Regions from separate parts of the Homo sapiens genome. Here region 2 is linked to region 1. The links are contacts of gene promoters, found by promoter capture Hi-C in blood cells and fetal thymus (Javierre and others, 2016). All regions are on one chromosome and are shown on one strand. The core of a region is centred on a gene start or on the middle of the fragment in contact, and the rest is flanking DNA. Distances in the headings are between cores, read along the strand shown.

The links. The method cuts DNA at HindIII sites, captures the fragments that hold promoters and counts their contacts. A CHiCAGO score of 5 or more calls a contact.
Region 2: a contact is called between a fragment that was not itself captured here and the fragment with the promoter of DPYSL5 in region 1, in 1 of 17 cell types (megakaryocytes). The highest score is 6.6, in megakaryocytes.

The regions. Positions count from the first base shown.
Region 1 is chr2:26,846,715-26,849,497 of GRCh38, reverse strand. DPYSL5 (dihydropyrimidinase like 5) reads right to left here and starts at 1,366. Exons shown (of 13, transcript NM_020134.4): 1 at 1,244-1,366. The HindIII fragment of the contact is 4,603 bases long and covers 1-2,783 here.
Region 2 is chr2:26,977,308-26,980,090 of GRCh38, reverse strand. All of the region lies in intron 1 of MAPRE3 (microtubule associated protein RP/EB family member 3), which reads right to left. Among named protein-coding and RNA genes, the nearest start is that of MAPRE3, 8.1 kb to the right of the region's middle. The HindIII fragment of the contact is 2,833 bases long and covers 26-2,783 here.

The DNA.
Region 1 (2,783 bases), core at 117-2,616:
GCCAGCCCAGCCCGGTCCCGGATCTGCCATCCTGGGTCCCTAACCCCGGTCCGAGGGCCACGCCCAGCCGGCCACCTGGGCCGCGGGGCCCCGCGCCTGGAGCTGAGGATCCTCGGGCCCGAGACCGCCTCTCAGCTGCTTGCCCCTCCCTCCTCGGGAGGCTCCCCTTCCCAGGAGGCCCCCCTCCCCCGCACAGCGCGGGTCTTCTCCTCGCTCCCGTCCTCCCTCCTCAAACCCAGGCGGCCTCCACCCGCCTGCATCCCTCCTCCCCTCCCCATTCTTCAGCAGAACCAGCCTCGCCGGGCGCCACCTGCACCGAGCTCCTTCCCTCGTTCTTCGGACCCGCCCCCGCCCCTTCTCTTTCCTCCTCAAACCCTAGTTCCCACTCCCTGCTCCCCGAGACCCACTACCTGTCCTAACCCAGCTCCCCAGCCTTCCCCATCCCCATCTTTTCTCAACCGAGGCCTCCCCTCGCCCTCTCCCGGCTTCTCTCCAGCTCAGACTACAGCCCCGTCCCCAGGCCCGGGGCGTCGACGTCGGTGCCCGCTGAGATCGATGCTGCAAGGCGGGCTCCCGCGCTGGGCTCCAGCCGAGGGACCCGGCTCGGCGCCCGCTCCGGGCTGGGCAGCCGCAGGAGGCCTTTGTGGCTCAGGCGGGAGGCTCGGAGGCGGCGGGCGAGTCCTCTGCAGGCGTCCGCTCCGTTAGCCGGGCGGTGGAACAGACCGCCGGGTCGGGTCCAGGCTGGGCAGATCCCAGCTCGGAGGCGAGAAGGACGGAGGGTGTGTATCTGGGTGGTGTGTGGGACCGGGGACAGCGCAGATCCTGGGACCGGCAGGACTGGCCCCCGGCCAGAGGCGCCCCCGCCCAGCCCTCCAGCGGTCCACTGCACCGCGCCCGGCTAGGAAAGCGGCCCACTGCGTGCTAGGCGCGAAACCCCTCGGCCGAGCCGCCTCCTCACCCCAGGGCTTTGCAACCCCGCGAGCACGCATTAAACGCTTACTATGAGCAAGGCCCGGCACGGCGCTTCGCGGGCGTACAAAGAGGACCCCAAGAGCGCCCCGGCTTAGCCCCGATGGCCACCTCCCAACCCCAAACCACACCTCCCGCCGCGTCCCCTGCGGCCGGGCCCCAGGCTCACCCGGCTCCCCGCCCTTTTGTGCGCCTCACGCAGAAACAGAAGGGGGAGAGGAGGATGTCCTAGCCCGGGAGGGGTAAGCCCACCGACCCCCCTGCCATCACCCACTCCTCCGAGATGCTGCGGCCGCGGGGGCCCGTGGCTCGGTCCGTCTCCGTCTCGCCGCGGCGCCGGAGCTGCGGGTGCTCGGGGCGGCGGCGGCTGCACGCGCGCTCGCTCGGGGGCCGCCTCAGCGCGCCCAGCGCGGGAGTCCAGAGTGGGGAGCGGGGGAGGGGCGCGTGTCGGGGGCTGGGAGCGGCCTCCGCCAATCACCGCGCGGCCGGCTCCTCCCGCCGCTCCCCACCTCAGCTAGCAGGTTAAGGGGAGGCGGGGACAGGCGGCGTCCCGCATCCTTGGCGCCGCGCGCCGCCGCCGCCTGGGGACTACAACTCCCGGCAGGCCCTGCTGCAGGGCCGGGGTCCGAGAGCGGACGGAGGGCGCGGCCGGAGAACTCACCGACCCCCCTAGCACCCGGCTCCGCGTTCCCTCGGGTTTCCATGGCGACTCAGGACACCACAAAGCCTGGACGCGCTGAGGCACGGGTCCCCAGGGAGGGCCGGGGGCGGTTCCGGAGGACACCCCGCCTCCCCTCCCCCAGCTGGATCCCACCCCAGGGGCTGAAACAATGCCGCGGCCGCCTCTCCCGGGCTGCGGCCGCGCTGCCCTCCGCCGCAGGACCCCGCCGAGGCCGCCTGGTTCGCGCCAAGACCCGCTCCGACGCCCGCGGGATTGCGGGATGCAAAGGGCCGGGTGGGCGTTATAGGAAAACTGTTCTCATGAACAAAGTGGACGGCCACTTGGGGCCACCGCAGTTCGCATCTGCACCCGGGGAGGTCTCGAACCCGGAGTGCGTTCTCTCCACTGAGAAGATTTTGCCCAGCGCCACGCGGGTGCTTCCCTGTCCAGAGCGCTCAGGCCCAGTGCCTGTCTTATTTCTGGCTTCTGTCAAGGGACAGCGAAGCCTTTGGAAATTATTTATAACCCAATTTACATTCGCTTCACCTGTTTCTTCATGTTTAAATACATACATAATTTACCAAAATAAACAAATCTAAAAAAGGAGAGGAAGGATCATCCCCGGTTTGTCCCACCTCCCTAGCTAATCCCGGTTCAAGCCTTTGCCATTGATCTGTGTTATTTTCTGCAGTTGTAATAATAGTTTGGATTAGTCATTTGCCTCTTTGCACTTAATGTCACTCCAAAGGCGTTGCGATGCGCGTTAAAATGCAGCATCAAGGACCTCCAAGCTGCAGCTGCAGAATCCCTCCCTCCCCGGGCTCCCCGGCGATCCGGTGGGGAGAGGAGTCCCCTGGCAGCCATGGCCTCGTGAGGTGGTTCTCTTTGCAGGATACTTTCAAACAAAATGGTGTTCACTACTCCGGGGGCGTGGAGGGGGTCCCCTCTCCCCATCTCAGCAAAATCTACCCGGGCGCAGGACCCGCAGAGCCCGCCAAGGCGGGGTTCCCTGCCGTCCTTCCCCAGAGAGCTTAGGGCCTGGACCAGGCCAGGCTGGCCTTTGAGGGATGCATTTCTGGATTACCCCACCCCTGAGTCTGCACTCCTTCTCCCCTTCCCAACTCCCGCCTGCTTGGTAAGCAGAGAGCAGGGA
Region 2 (2,783 bases), core at 193-2,692, 130 kb before region 1:
CTAACTATGGACAGTTCTCAAAGCTTATTACTTGGGGCTCTGGTCTTTGTACTCTGCATGCAAGACCTCTGGAGAGATTCCTTTGAGGGAATCCAGCCCTCCTCTGTGCTGCTGACTCCCACTCTACAGCTCCATCCACAACCTGACCCTCAGCTTCCGGTTCTATGAGATCACTCAACTTGGATGTCCTGCAACCCACAGTCACGTTGTTTTTAGCTCTCTGTGTCTAAAAAGCAACTCCTTTCCAAACTGTCTCTTCAAACTTCCTAATTTCTGGTTAATGTCACCAATATTCTCCAAACTCAAAACCAGCACACATCCTCAGTCTGGTAAGGCTGCCCTGCCTACAAACCCCACCACACCCCTTCCCACGGCCATTCCTTTGCTGATGCTGTACCTTGCCTCCTGAAAAGCCCTCTCTGGTGTTCTGTCAACTCACAGCCTGCTCATCCTTGAGACAAGGTCAGGTTCTGCTTCCTTTGTGAAGTCTTGTCTTTTTTTAATAGAGATTGGCCCTTACTCTGCCACCCAGGCTGGAGTGCAATGGCATGATCATAGTTCACTGCAGCCTCAAACTCCTGGGCTCAAGCCATCCTCCTGCCTTGGCTTCCCTAGTAGCTGGGACTATAGGTATATGCCACCATGCCCGGCTAATTTAAAAACAATTTTTGTAGATGGGGTCTCGCTATGTTGCTGAGGCTGGTCTTGAACTCCTGGCCTCAAGTGATCCTCCCCCCTTGGCCTCCCAAAGTGTTGGTATGACAGGCGTGAGCCATTGCACCTAGACTGAAGTCTTTTCTGATTACTCCAGTTCACAATGATTATTTTCCTCTCAGCATCCTTTTGGAATTTAGACTCTGTAGTACCAGTGACACCCAATGCACTGTTCTTTTCATTTCTTTTGCCTCTCTTCCTCAGCTGTCCTCTGATGAGTCTCCACATCAACCTGCACACCCAGCTCCAGTGTGTCTTCATCTCTGAAGTCTTTCTGGTTCTCACAGGCTCAGGGTGACTCTTCCTTCTGGCTTACCAAAGCACCCTTTCCCATAGCTGATAAGGTTCCATCCCCTCATGTTACAGTGACATACAGTTTTGTGTCCAACTCTTTTGCCAGAATATTAGCTGAATTCCTTAAGGGCTGACACTGTGTCTTATAGAATAAGGCACCAAAGATGTGTTTCTGACATGCAATATTGTCATATGCACTAATCATTCCATATATCCATCTTGTCTTCCACACACATTACAGCCTCCTCATGGACAAGGGTTGAGTCTCATTTCCTTTATATCCCATAGTGACTAACAATACAAAACAGAGAAAGGGCTTGATGAAGAATACGTGCTGAGAGCATGCTTACATGTCTTGTGAAGATGATATGCAAATTTATATGAATAATCTGTAAACCTGGGAACTATACTTTTGGGGTAATAGAAGTCTTATCAAGTTGTCTCAAGACACTGTACCTTGCTATTTTGGGGCCAGCATAACACATCTCTGTACTTAGCAGTGATCCTGTCACTTAAGAGTGTTAATAGGATGCCTAAACTGAGAGCTTTCAGCTATGAGCTCTAAGCATCTAAAATCAGAACAAATCAAGGACCAAATCAGAGTCCCAGGTAAGTGTCAATAACCTTCAGGGAAGCGGGTGGGGGTGGAGGGTGGCTGGCTGCCAAGAGTCTGGTGCTGCGGAAAGGCCTGGCTACACAGCACACATTATGCCACTGGAGATAAGCCTGCGTGAAACACTCCTCACATGGGAAAGGTATCTAATTTCATCTAGTGGTCTAAGACCTGCCCCTTTCACATGGCAACACACACCTTAGACCCAACTATGATCTTGCTGACTCAGAAGCAGTTAAGATTTCATTTCTTACCAGTCAGAGAACACCATATAAATTACAAGGTGACCAGGACCACAATGCCCTCAAGATAAGATGACTGTTTCTCCCACAATCACTCTCTCCGAGTGGTGGAGTCTCTCCAGCCAGCCATACCCAAAGACTTGCTCACTAATAATTCCAGCAGCAGGGAAGGCCTCCACCCCATCTAGGACAAGTATTTGGGTAGCCAGACCATTTGGAGGAAGAGGCAGATCCTGCTTAGCAAACATTTATCACAGCACAGTTCGAGCTATGTGACAGGCCATATGTTCTTCAACTCGAAGTCCCGGATCCTCAGGAGGAGGCCAAAGTGCCCCTTTCTCAGTGCTCAGAGCTGGGCAGACTCCACCACTGGTTGAAGGCAGGTATCAGTCCACTGGACTGGGCCATCTAGGCAATGTACAGTGTGTGTGTGTGGATGGGAAAGATGAGGCCAGAGGACAGCTGCCCGGCCAGGCCCTACCAACACAGTCAGCAGCTCCATGGACCTGGTGTGGCACAGGGGGAGTGGCCTAGCCTATGTCTACATAGGGCTCTGCCCATCGGGTGGCCACAGGTGGGCACCCAACCCTCTCTATCCCTGGAAGGAAAAAGGGCCTCTGAGCTCATGGCTGAACGGAAGGTGACAAAGGGCAAAGGGAGGAAGGCAACTGTAGTGGGCCTGGGCAGAGTCTTTTGAAACAGACAATTCAGACAGGTGCACATCCACACCAAAAAATGAGCAAAACCCTCAAAAAAGGCCCCTGGAACACTGGAGAACTGGGAATACAGAGAATCTGAAAAGACACCTGGGAAAAGAAGGCCACCCAAAACAGAGCCCTGTGGTATACAAGGTTTTACTAAAACCTTCCGATACATGTAAACAGTAAAAGGAAGAGGCAAAGAAGACTCTAAAGATTGCT